Linked DNA regions of Homo sapiens: region 1 is linked to region 2. Evidence: promoter capture Hi-C in 16 types of primary human blood cells and fetal thymus (Javierre and others, 2016). All regions are on one chromosome and are shown on one strand. Each heading gives the region's core, a stretch centred on a gene start or on the middle of the fragment in contact. The rest is flanking DNA. Distances are from core to core; before and after follow the strand shown.

Region 1 (6,704 bases), core at 1,229-3,728, 770 kb before region 2:
TGCTGTAATTCACAAAAGTAGTATGGACCCCAAGAGCGAAAGAACAAAGCCCCACCAAGGCAGAGAGACACCCGAGCGGGTTACTACTACCAACTCGGGCAGCCTGCTTTTATTCTCTTATCTGGCCCCCCCCCAACCACATCCTGCTGATTGGTAGAGGCGAGTGGTCTGTTTTGACAGGGCGCTGATTGGTGCGTTTACAATCCCTGAGCTAGGTACAAAGGTTCTCCTCCTCCCCATCAGATTAGTTAGATACAGAGTATCCACACAAAGGTTCTCCAAGGCCCCACCAGAGCAGCTAGATACAGAGTGTCGATTGGCGCGCTCACAACCCTGAGCTAGACACAGGGTGCTGATTGGTGTGTTTACAAACCTTGAGCTAGATACAGAGTGTCCATTGGTGTATTTGCAATCCCTGAGCTAAACATAAATTCTCCACGTCCTCACCAGACTCAGGAGCCCAGCTGGCTTCACCCAGTGGATCCCGCACCGGCGCTGCAGTCCCACGCCATGCGCTTGCACTCCTCAGCCCTTGGGCGGTCGATGGGACTGGGCGCCGTGGAGCAGGGGGCGGCGCTCGTCGGGGAGGCTCCGGCTGCACAGGAACCCACGGAGGCGGGGGAAGGCTCAGGCATGGCGGGCTGCAGTCCCAAGGCCTGCCCCGCGGGAAGGCAGCTAAGGCCCGGTGAGAAATCGAGCGCAGCGCCGGTGGGCTGGCACTGCTGGGGGACCCAGTACACCCTCCGCAGCCGCTGGCCCGGGTGCTAAGCCCCTCACTGCCCCGGGCCGGCAGGGCCGGCCGGCTGCTCCGAGTGCGGGGCCGCCAAGCCCACGCCCCCCCGGAACTCCAGCTGGCCCGCAAGCGCCGCGCGCAGCCCCGGTTCCCGCTCGCGCGTCTCCCTCCACACCTCCCTGCAAGCTGAGGGAGCGGGCTGCGGCCTTCGCCAGCCCAGAAAGGGGCTCCCACAGTGCAGCGGTGGGCTGAAGGGCTCCTCAAGTGCCGCCAAAGTGGGAGCCCAGGCAGAGGAGGCGCCGAGAGCGAGCGAGAGCTGTGAGGACTGCTAGCACGCTGTCACCTCTCAATGGGATTAACCACACTTTACCCACGCAACCTTAGCTTATCTGCCTTGTGTGATTCCCTTTGACTTCCTAAGCCTATGTGATCTACCTGGCTCCCTGAAAAATTGATCTTTGGAGAGACTGTGTTGTTTTTGGTCAAGGCTCCTTTAACAGAGGCAATGTGCTAGACTGCCTGCTATTATGGCCCATGCCAAACCATTTACCCTCAGAAAAATGGTTCTGGTTAACTTCTGAACTTAAAATCTCCCTACTAATTATACCATTTTAACAGGAAACAGATTAGATGTCTTAAAAGAGCGTAGGAACAGAATGGCCATTTTCCTGCTTATGGGACAATATCAAGACTAAAATGTGGCAGCAGACATATTACTTCTTTTTGAGACAGAGTCTCACTGTCACCCAGGCTGGAGTGCAGTGACGTAATCTCAGCTCACTGCAACCTCTGCTTCCCCGTTTTAAGCAATTCAATAGCCTCAGCCTCCTGAGCAGCTGGGACCGCAGGTGTGCACCACCACGCCCAGCTAATTTTTGTGTTTTTAGTAGAGACGGGGTTTCACCATATTGGCCAGGCTGGTCTCGAACTCCTGACCTCGTGATCCACCCGCTTTGGCCTCCCAAAGTGTTGGGATTACAGGCGTAAGCCACCATGCCCGGTCGAGGACATATTACTTCTAATTGCTGAAGGCAGAACTTTCCGGTTCACAGAAGTAGGTTAGAGCCTGATTTCTGGTGGTGCAAAAGGAAGTTCAGTGTTACCGTAAAAAATGTGGCCCCTGAAGAGGATTTCTACTTCCACTAGGTGGCGCTGTTGGCTTAGAAATACTATATGCTCACCAGCGCAGCCACAGAGAGCGGGCTTGTTGAGTTACTGCCTGCTGCGTTTGCCATCTTTCCTAGCAGACCTGTTTCACTGAACTGTAAAACTCCCTGCACTTTTCACAGAGAGAGAGTAAGAGACCGTGGATAGAGAAAGAAGGAAAATTTTGCAACAGGATAGTAAGAAGAGAGCCTTGAAATTGAAGGAGAGATTTGAGGTTGGGGCTCGCTCTATAGTCACCACTCCGATGAATGAATTCCCGGTCAATGCAACCAAAATGATAACTGCTCTGATGAATGGAAGAACAGCAGGGTCCTTGGTCTAACATCGTTTTAGATAAAGCGACATGGACACATGTAGAGTGGTTTTAAGGAGTGGAGAGTTTAATAAGCAAGAAAGAAGGAAGAAGCTTCCCAGTACAGGGACAGAGGGAGGGGGGCTCCCAGAGAGAAACCCCGTGTGTGGCAGAGTAGTTTGTTATAGCAGGAGGCTGGAGGAGGAGGTGTCTAATTTGCATAGGGCCCAGGAGATTGGTTTGACCAGGCGTGTCATTCACATAGCCCGTGAAAAACCTGGCACTCCTACCTTACTCCTTTAATATGCAAATGCAGGTCACCATGATATCCATGTTATCTGGAGGCAATCATGACACTTGGCACATGTAGTGATGAGGAGGAGAGGGTGGCACTCTTCCTGTTGGCCATGTTGGGTGGACCCAGTTTCTAATCGCCAGCATTTGCATATCAAAGCTTGCCGGCCTGGTTTTTCAAGCTGCCTTTCTGTTAGAAAAGAAATGGTTTGGGGGTTGCTTCTTATTACAGGAAAATTTCCACTGAGAACCTTTACCCTTTCTAGCGGCCTAAAAGTTATTTCTTAATAATTCCTGTATTATTTGGAGGTGTTTGGGTCATGTGGGTAGATCCCTCCTGAAGTAATGAGTTCTCACTGTTCGTTCACACAAGAGCTTGTTGTTTAAGAGTCTGGCATCTCGCTTGCTCCTACTCTCACCATGTGGCACACTGTCGCCCCTTTGCCTTCCACCATGATTGTAAGCTTCCTGAAGCCCTCATCAGAAGCAGATGCTGGCACTATGCTTCATGCACAGCCTGTAGAACTATGAGTCAACTTAACCCCTTTTCTTTATAGATTACCCAGCCTCAGGTATTCTTTTATAGTAATGCAAGCAGACTAACACAAAGCTCATTATATATTTACAGTAGAGATGGATGTTAATACATGAGCATATTTTATATGAGCCACTATAATTATTGCTATTCCTATAGGAGAAAAATTATTCAGCTGATTAGCAAACTTTCACAGAGAAAATATCTAATGGTCATTAGCTGTACTATGAACTTTAGGCTTTATTTTCTCATTCACAGTTGGAGGCTCAACAAAAATTGTATCAGCTAAATTATCATTTGATATCAACCTTCATGATAGATATTGTTGTAGTAAAGCAAAGTAAAATGAAAGTAAAGTCAAAGTAAAGCAAAGTAAAAGGCTAGAGAGTGTTGGAAGCAGTGAATCCTATTTTAGATGGACTTGCCAAGGATACTGGTAATTTTCTTTTTTTTTTGAGATGGAGTCTTTCTTTGTCATCCGGAGTGGAGTGCAGTGACTTGATCTTGGCTCACTGCAACCTCTGCCTCTGGGGTTCAAGCGATTCTCCTGCCTCAGCCTACTGAGTAGCTGGGATTATAGGCACGTGCCATCATGCCTGGCTAATTTTTGTATTTTTAGTAGAGACGGGGTTTCACCATATTGGCCAGGCTGGTCCCGCACGCCTGACCTTGTGATCTGCCCACCTCGGCCTCCCGAAGTGCTAGGATTACAGGCATGAGCCACTGCACCTGGGCGGATACTGGTAATAAAGTAAATGAGCAGGTCATGTGAAAATCTGGAGAAAGTTTATTTCAAGCAGATGGAAGAAGGTGCAGGCATTTGAAATTGGAACAAAACAAATTTGGCATTTTTTAAGGAATAAAAAATGTGGTTAGAGTGGAATAAATGAGGTGAGAAAATGTAGGAAATAGGGCCAGGGAGACAAGCAAAGGTAAGATTATGTAGGGAAGTATAGGTCATGGAAAGAAATTTGGATTTTCTTTTGAGTAAACTGGATTTTAGAAATTTGTGGTAGTGCAGGATTTATTATGTATTAACAAGAACTGGTTGCCTGCTGTATGGAAAACAGATATAGTGGGGCAAAAGTGAAGTAAGGAAGTCCAGTTAGAAATACAGCAGATATCTAGTAAAGACTAAGCTCTGATTTTTTATCTGGCCTAAATTCCTTATTAAGGGGTATGGGGAGTCATGACCCACAAACCATAAATTCTCATCAGATGGGTTTTATTTAATCCTGTATATTACGACTTACTTTCCAATCTGACTCTGGCATAACTAGAAAGAAAATAAAAATGTTTTACCCCAAAATATATTTTCTTGCCATACCTTGAAATTGCCCTGCAAAGTCCCTTGTGGGAAAAATCCACATTCTATAGAGAATCCCCTTTCCCCTTTGTTTTCCTTTCTTCCTTTCTGGATCCAGGAGATAATCAACTAAGAGCCAGGTACCCTTTTAGGTCTGATAGGAAACATTTTACAACCTGCTGTCTCTGAAGTCTGCTATCAGAGAGCTTCCTCTGCACAATAAAACTTGGTCTCCACAATTCTTTATCTTAACTTGAACATACCTTTCTTTTTTTTGAGACAGAGTCTCACTCTGTCACCCAGGCAGGAGTGCAATGACGCAATCTCGGCTCACTGCAACTTTCGCCTCCTGGGTTCAAAAGATTCTTGTGCCTCAGCCTCCCAAGTAGCTGGGGTTACAGGCACCCACCACCATGCCCAGCTAATTTTTGTATTTTTAGTAGAGACAGGGTTTCACCATGTTGGCCAGGCTGGTCTCGAACTCCTGACCTTGGGTGATCCACCTGCCTTGGCCTCCCAAAGTGCTGGGATTACAGGTGTGAGCCACCACACCCGGCCTGGACATTTCCTTTCTATTGATCCCAGCTCTTCAGATAAACTCAACCAACTGTCATACAGAAAATGTTTAAATTTACCTATAGCCTGGAAGCCCCTGCTTTGAGTTGTCCTGCCTTTCTGAACCAAACCAATGTATTTCTTAAATGTATTTGATGTGTCATGCCTTCCTAAAACATATAAAAGCAAGCTGTACCCCATCCATCCTGGGCACATGTTCTCAGGACCTCCTGAGGGCTGTGTCATGGGCCATGGTCACTCATATTTGGCTCAGAATAAATCTCTTCACATATTTTATAGAGTTTGACTATTTTCATCCATACTAGGAAATATGACTATTATCTCTACTGAAATAAAGATACAAGTGGTGAGAAGTAGTAAGATTTGGGATATATATTAAAGGTTTAGTTGACAGGATTTGTTGATGGAATAAATGTATGCTACAAAGGGAAAACTCATGACTTTTACATTTTTAGCAAGAACAACCAGATGAATGATACTGTCACTTAACTGAAATGAGGAACACAGGGCTAGGAGTGGTTTGAAAGTGAAGTCAAGAGTTCCATTTAATTATGTTAACTTTTAAAATGTTTATTAGACATACAAGTGGACAGTTATTCATGTCTGAATTTGATAGAAAAGGTAAAATCTGGGGATTAAAAAAATGGGCTTTACATATGCATTGTCTTAAAGTCACAGGAATGGTTGACCTTACTTAGACATGTGAATATGAATTGTGGACATAAGAAAATTGAAGACCAATCCACAGGATTTACCAACATCTGGAGATCAAGACAAAGACGAAGAAACAGCAAAGTTGGCTGAGTAGCAGTAGCCAATAAGATAAAAGATAAATCAGAAAACTTTTATCCCAGAAGCCAAGTGGAGAGAAAAGTGTTTTAAGAATGAAGATGGGGAAGATTCTAGGTAGGTGGTTTTAGTACAGTGCACTTTAAAAATCTCCATCTAGGGCAGCAAAACCAAGGAGCAATGAACAAAACCCATTTATAGCAAAACTAGATGGCAAAATTTCTCCATGAGCTTTCAGTTATGAGAAGATGATGACGAATTATCAGTAACTACACAACCCACAAAGTATCAGCATCTGTTTGGGAAGTTGGACAGGATCCAACTCACAGGAAAGTCTAATAGGGCCACAGTGCAATAAAGTATAAAGATGTTGGGTAAGTCTGGGCCCTATAGACTTTCTTTTTTTAAAAATTTTTAACCTTTTTTTTTTTGGAAATGGAGTCTCGCTCTCTCGCCCAGGCTAGAGTGCAGTGGCGCGATCTCCCCTCATTGCAAACTCCACCCCCCGTGTTCACGCCATTCTCCTGCCTCAGCCTCCCAAGTAGCTGGGACTACAAGCGCCCGCCACCACGCCCAGCTAATTTTTTGTATTTTTAGTAGAGATGGGGTTTCACCATGTTAGCCAGGATGGTCTCGATCTCCTGACCTCGTGATCCACCCGCCTTGGCCTCCCAAAGTGCTGGGATTACAGGCGTGTGCCACCGTGCTCAGCAAATTTTTTTAACTTTTTAGTTCAGGGGTACATGTGCATGTTTGTTACATGGGTAAACTTGTGTCATGGGGGTTTGCTGTACAGATCATTTCATCACCCAGATATTAAGCCTAGTACCCATTGTTATTTTTCCTGATCCTCTCTCTCCTCCTACCCTTCACCCTCCAACAGGCCTCAGTGTGTGTTGTTCCTTTCTATGTATACATGTGTTTTCATCATTAGCTCCCACTTATAAGTGAGAACACATGGTATTTGGTTTTCTGTTCCTGCATTAGTTTGCTAAGAATAATGGTCTCTAGC
Region 2 (6,374 bases), core at 2,084-4,583:
TGGGCAAGTCCAGTGAAGGCAGACAAACCACAAGACCTAGTGCCAGGTTTATTCCCTCACATGGGTGGTTCACATACACAGCACAGAGGCACGGGCACCATGGGAGAGGGCAGCACTCCTGCCTTCTGAGGGGATCTTGGCCTCACGGTGTAAGAAGGGAGAGGATGGTTTCTCTTCTGCCCTCACTAGGGCCTAGGGAACCCAGGAGCAAATCCCACCACGCCTTCCATCTCTCAGCCAAGGAGAAGCCACCTTGGTGACGTTTAGTTCCAACCATTATAGTAAGTGGAGAAGGGATTGGCCTGGTCCCAACCATTACAGGGTGAAGATATAAACAGTAAAGGAAGATACAGTTTGGATGAGGCCACAGGAAGGAGCAGATGACACCATCAGAAGCATATGCAGGGAAAGGGCAGTTACTGGGCTTCTGGGCTGCTTAGTCCCTGGCTTGGCAGGAAGGGTAGGGAAGATGGATGGGGCTCATTGTTTGGCATTGATGATGTCCACGAATTCGGGCTTGAGGGAAGCACCACCCACAAGGAAGCCATCCACATCAGGCTGGCTGGCCAGCTCCTTGCAGGTTGCCCCAGTCACAGAGCCTGGGAAGGGAGCAGAACAAGGGCTTGGTCAAGAATGGGATGAGTCTGCCCCATCCCCACCTCCATGTCCGAGGGCTCAGTCTAGTCCTCAGCCCACTCCACCTCAGCCGGGAACCAAAGCCACTCACCTCCATAAATGATACGGGTGCTCTGAGCCACCGCATCAGAGACGTTGGACTTCAGCCATCCTCGGAGCTTCTCGTGTACTTCCTGGGCCTAGAACAAGAAGCTGGCCTAAGTAAGACCTTTTCTGCCTCTCTAAGAGGAAAAATCACTGGCACCAGTGGACACTTAGTGTGGTTTCTGACTGAGTCAGAGTACCAGGGCTCTGATCCAAGCCAGGCCCTGGACTGGATGCCCTTGGACAAGTCACTGTCTCTGGGTTCAAGGTCTCTGTGTCTTTGAAATAAGGGGTTGCCCCATGTGGGCTGTGTCTGTCCAAACCTATTGAGGCAGGCTGGGATGAGGGCAGGGCTCCTGGGCCCGGTTACCTGTTGGGGTGTTGCAGTCTTGCCAGTACCAATGGCCCACACAGGCTCATAGGCCAGGACGACCTTGCTCCAGTCCTTCACGTTATCTGCAGGGCAGAGATACAGATGGAGGGAAGGGTGAACAAGAAAGAGCTCTCCAGCCAGGTTCTCCGGAGTACGAAGAACGGTGGCCTACTGCCCCCTAGTGGACATTGGGGGATTTCCAGGTGGCATCTACCTTGGGGCTGGAGAAGTCATAGGCCCCAAGCAAAGATTGTCACTCCCCCTCCCCTTTTTCCTTTTCTGGATCAGCATGGGGACCAAGACAGGCTCCAGGGCCTGACCCTACCCTCTGAGTCTCTGTGGCCCTGGATAGGCTCAAAGGTCCCTTTCTCCAGAGATACCTGCGATGACCTTTGTCTGCTCGAAAACAACCTTCTCAGTGATGCCAGCTTCCCTTTCATCTAGCTTCTCCCCAATGCAGGCGATTACTCCGAGTCCCTCTGCCAGAGCATGGGCCACTTTCTGCCCAATCAGCTGTTGAGAAACAGACTTGGTGAGACATCCTTCTTGGAAAAAGACATCCCTTATCTTCTCTCTTGGCTACTAACCTCATCTGACTCCCCAAAGACATGCCTTCTCTCTGAGTGCCCCAGGACCACCCACGTGGCTCCGCAGTCTTTGATCATGCCAGGGCTAAAGGAAGAGATGAAGCCAAGGTTCAGCAGGGAGCCCACCCTGTGGCTTTCCCCTCAACGAGGAAAGTGAGGGAAGGGTCCCACACACCCCTCTCCACCTCGATCTCACCTGATCTCCCCAGTAAAAGCCCCATTAGTCACTTTGTAGCAGTTCTGCGCAGCCACAGCAATCTTGGGATCTAGCTTCTGCCGGGCGAAGTCGATATAGGCAGTAGGGGGAGCACAAACCACCTCTGAGGACAAGATGGTACCACAGGGGGATGAGACTAAAGAAAGCCTTCATTCCCCACAATTCCTAACCAGTGCCCTGGAGCCCCCCAGCCCTCACCCTCTTCTTCTTGGTTCTGCTCTCCCCCTTTTCACCCCAGCAAGATGACCTTTGTCCATTTTCCAGCCCAGGCTGGGTCTGCACTCAACTCGAAGAGCCTTCCAGATACCCCTGAGAGGCCACGGCCCTCACCCTGCCCTCTGCTCTTTTAACAGCTGGGGCTCCAATTTCCTCGAGCTATTCTCGGCATAGGCACCTCACAGACTCAGCATTCTCCAGGGAGCAACCCTGCTTCCCTTCTAAAATAGCCCATCCTCACCTCCCCTTTGCAAGGCAAGGATTTGTAGCAAAAGGAGAGGGGCCAACTCCTGGGGTTTGTATTGAGGCCTCTGGGGAATGAACGAGAAGGGGATGCCTCTTTGGATCAGGCCCGCGGCTCTCCGATTTCGGTGGAGGGAGGAAGGAGGATGGAGGAGAGCATCCTTTGCCCGTGGGTGGCAGAGACCTAACTGACTCAGAGGCCTTGCGCTTTGCTGTTTCCAGGTTGGGGAAAGCGGTAGGATGGCTCCTCACTCCCAAATCGCTCAGCCTGTTTGGCACGGGCTCGGTCCCTTCCGTGGAAGGCGGGAGTCGTTCAGGTTGCCGAAGGGAAGGGGTCAGATCTGGGGCTCAGGGAGCCCGAGCAGCTCGGCGCGGGGACGCGGACGCCGGCGAGGAAGGGGAGGAGTCTGGGGCTACGTGCGGCGGCGCACGGCGCGGGAGGCCAGGGCGCAGGGAGCGGGAAGCCCACGCGGCCCAGCCTCCCCCGGTCTCCCGCAGAGCCTCGGGCTCCGCTCCTAACCCCGTCGCCTGGCGGGCACAGCCCCAGTGCGCGCCCCGGGGCCACCTTCCTCCAGGAGACCCAAAACGTCCTTACCTGCCCCATAGTCCAAGGGGCATCATGTGCTCCGCCCTGCCCCCTCGACGCACCGACGGGGCTGCGGCTGCGAGGCCCCTGCCCGGACCCCAGCGGCCCTCGTCCCACAGCCCTGCATCAGGTCCGCGCGGATACCGGCCTCGGGGCCTCGGGGCCTCGGGAGAGGGCGCTGCCACTCCTGCCCCGGCCCCGGCCCCGGCCCGGCCAGACCCCTCCTCGGCGAGGGCTTACCGGTGTCGGCCGGCACCTTGGCCGCGTTCAGAGTGCCGATGAGCTCCCCCAGACTCTGCTTCCGCCCGTTCATCTTCCAGTTTCCCCCAACGAAGAACTTCCTGGAGGGCGCCATGGCGCTGGAGCCGAGGCGCTGAAGGTCAGTGTCTGCGCGCAGTCGCGGCCACTGCCCACTTATATAGAGCGCCGCGAAGTGGAACTCCGCCTCCTCGCCGTCCTCCGCCATGGCCCGCCCAGTCCCCCGGAGCCCTGCCCCCCGCCCGCCCTCCTGCCGCCGCCCCGGCCGCCGCCCGATGATGCACTGTTCCGACGTTCCCCCTTCTTGTGGCAACGTTCTAGGAGAGTCGGGGGCTCGGTCGCCTCCGCCTCGATTGCGGGGCTTTCGGGACAAGGCGAGACCTGTGAGCTCCGGCGCTCAGGGGAACCCTCGCTTGGCGACTTGAGTCCCCCACGGGGCCAGAAGTGGTTTTCAAGCGGAACTAGCTGGTGGCAACTTGGCCGTAGCCCAGATCGCCCACTGGGGCAGAGAGGGCCCCTCTCCAACTGTGGGATAGACAACCTCCTTCGCCCATCGGAGCAGCTCATGCCCGACTGCTGAGCAGGCACCCTTGTACCCAGGGAGTCTACCTGAGTGAAAACTTGCGGGACAAATGCAGGGTTCACAGCGGGAGGGGCAGCCCACACAGGCATAGGCCGCCAGGATCATCCCAACCCTCGCCCCGGCTGGCAAGGCCTGGCAGGAACTGCAGGGACTGAGTCCCAGCCTGAAGCCAGCTAGCCAGTTAGGGACATTTGGGAAATCCTCCACTCCTGTGTGAATAAAGAGAGGGAAGGGTTCTTCACTCCATCTTTCCTTGGCTTTGTGTCGGCATTTAGTCACTCTACTCCACCTCCCCACCCAACCCCAATTTTCCTAGAGCTCTAGAACCAGTGAAAAGTGGAGACTTGACTTTGGCAGGGAGGCGGCCAGAGTTAGGAGTTTTCTTAAGCGCCCTCCTGCTAACCCCAGGAAGGTAAGCCTCTCCCCCAAGGTATCAAACAGGACACAATTTAGCCGTTGTACTTTTATTCACATCGTGTATTTTGGCATTTTCCAGAGAAGGACAAGGAAGAGACAGGGTGGGGGAAAGACTGAGGCAGGAGGGCAAGTCGGGGGGTCCCTATTTCCCTCACATCCCTCCTTGACCAACCACACAGGGGCAAACAAAGGGGGAGGGGAGGCACAGGTGATCGCTCCACTGGGAGAGGATGCACAAAGCTACACCCACGCGCACAAACGAGACCCCTCCCTCCACACCAGGGGGCTGGGCGGGGCGACACAGAGAAGCAGAGCACTGTGGATTCCGGGGGCAGGGGAAGCAACAAAGTCTCCTTACAGACAGGTGGCCGGCCCCTCCCGTCCCCGTCCTGCTCCATCCCCAGAGTCTATCGCTGCCCCTCTGCTCTGCCCAGCCATTCTCCCACGGCCTCCAGCTTCTTCCCTGCTGCCGGGGACAAAAGGAAAAAGGGTACAGAGCAGAGGGGCTGAAGTCCATCCCTCAGCCCCTCTCCCTCATGCCAGGTGGTCTTCCCCTGCCCTCATTGGTAAGGGGTGAGGCAGGCTCTTAGCTGGCCACTCTCTGGTAGAAGTAGATGTAGCCCAGGTCCTTGGGCGGCTTCTCGGAGGCACACACTTTCTGGTCATTGTAGATCACCCATCTGGGGAAGTGGGGAAAACAGAAAAGGATGAACAAACTGGGCATTCAAAGTGGCATCATGTAGTCTCTCAGACATGGCCCCTGGAAGTGCTCTCCACACTCTCTGCCCATACCCCAAATCCACAGCCCAGCCACCATGTGCCTTAAGGGAGCTTCACAACCTCACAAGGGTCACGGACCCTATTATGTCTTCAGATCCTCCAGTACCTTTACAACCACCCTCCACCCATTCCAGGGAGGCAGGGGGTTGGTAAACTTTTTCTGGCAAGGGCCAGATAGTATTTGAGGTTCTGCAGGCTCTCTCTCTGGTCTCTGACACAACGACTCAACTTTCCTGCCGCAGCGTGAAAACAGGCACAAACAACACATAAACAAGTGTGTCCAGGTTCCAGTGAAAATTTATTTACAAAGGCAGGGGGCCTGGCCAGGCACGGTAGCTCATGCCTGTAATCCTAGCACTTTGGGAGGCCGAGGCAGAAGGATCACTTGAGCTCAGGAGTTCAAGACCAGCCTGGGCAACATAGTGAGATCCCATCTCTATTTAAAAAAAAAGCTGGTGGCCAGATCCAACCCTTGGGCCAATCACTGCTGCAAGACCTTCTGTCACTCTCTGGCACTTTATGTCCCCATCAGGCAGTCCCTTCACCTTCTCCCATAGCTATCCCAAGGACTTCCAAATGGCCCTCCTCATTCCCACCACCATTCTCCATTCAAAACGCATGTGGCCAGCACTCACCTGCCTTCTTTCTTGATGTGGCAGACGTAGTGACCACACATGGTAGAGGTGCCCATGTGACTAATGAAGGCAAAGAGCTGATACTCTAGGAAAGGAGAGAGGGGGTCAGAGAAGGAAACAGAAGAGGAATGCTTGAGTGATGGCCCAAAGATCCAGACAACAGCTCAGACTCAGGACAGGAGTTTCAGGGAATGTGAGGCAGGTACTGGGCCAGAGCCTGTCTCCATGTCAGAGAACCCCACCCTCAGATGCCACGTTGAGGTGGAAAGAAGCCCCTGACTCCTGAGGAGGGCAGAGCTGCCTGAATGAGGGATCTGGTGTAGTAGACTGACCAGATTCCACCAGGCCTGTCCTGCTTCCTGGGGATACTCACTTCCAGGACCATCCCGGACTTTAGGTCCCACTGGCACAGACTCAGAGATGGAGTCGGCAGCTGAGCGGCCCTCTGAGATGTCCATGGCAGCTTCAGCATCCAGGTCGTCAATGTGACTGAAGATCCAGTCCACAGCCCGTTCTAAACTATTGTTCTTGGAGAGGAAGGAAGCATTACTTTTTTTCTTGAGACGGAGTCTTGCTCTGTCGCCCAGGCTGGAGTGCAGTGGCGCGATCTCGGCTCACTGCAAGCTCCGCCTCCCGGGTTCACGCCTTTCTCCTGCCTCAGCCTCCCAAGTAGCTGGGACTACAGACGCCCACCACCACGCTTGGTTAATTTTTTGTATTTTTCGTAGAGACGGGGTTTCACCGTGTTAGCCAGGATGG

Evidence for each region. The method cuts DNA at HindIII sites, captures the fragments that hold promoters and counts their contacts. A CHiCAGO score of 5 or more calls a contact.
Region 1: a contact is called between a fragment that was not itself captured here and the fragment with the promoter of TPI1 in region 2, in 1 of 17 cell types (fetal thymus). The highest score is 6.6, in fetal thymus.

The regions. Positions count from the first base shown.
Region 1 is chr12:7,634,036-7,640,739 of GRCh38, reverse strand. No RefSeq gene overlaps it. Among named protein-coding and RNA genes, the nearest start is that of APOBEC1, 29 kb to the left of the region's middle. RefSeq lists silencers at 608-707, 1,789-1,918 and an enhancer at 2,360-2,894. The HindIII fragment of the contact is 340 bases long and covers 2,309-2,648 here.
Region 2 is chr12:6,864,490-6,870,863 of GRCh38, reverse strand. It overlaps TPI1 (triosephosphate isomerase 1), which reads right to left and starts at 3,333. Exons shown (of 7, transcript NM_000365.6): 1 at 3,183-3,333; 2 at 1,877-2,000; 3 at 1,681-1,765; 4 at 1,474-1,606; 5 at 1,091-1,176; 6 at 728-815; 7 at 1-599. The coding sequence starts at 3,297. The coding sequence ends at 481. It overlaps USP5 (ubiquitin specific peptidase 5), which reads right to left. Exons shown (of 20, transcript NM_001098536.2): 18 at 5,989-6,142; 19 at 5,616-5,700; 20 at 4,232-4,880. The coding sequence ends at 4,787. RefSeq lists enhancers at 1-143, 3,756-4,417, 4,418-5,080 and silencers at 2,727-3,166, 3,437-3,486. The HindIII fragment of the contact is 21,039 bases long and covers 1-6,374 here.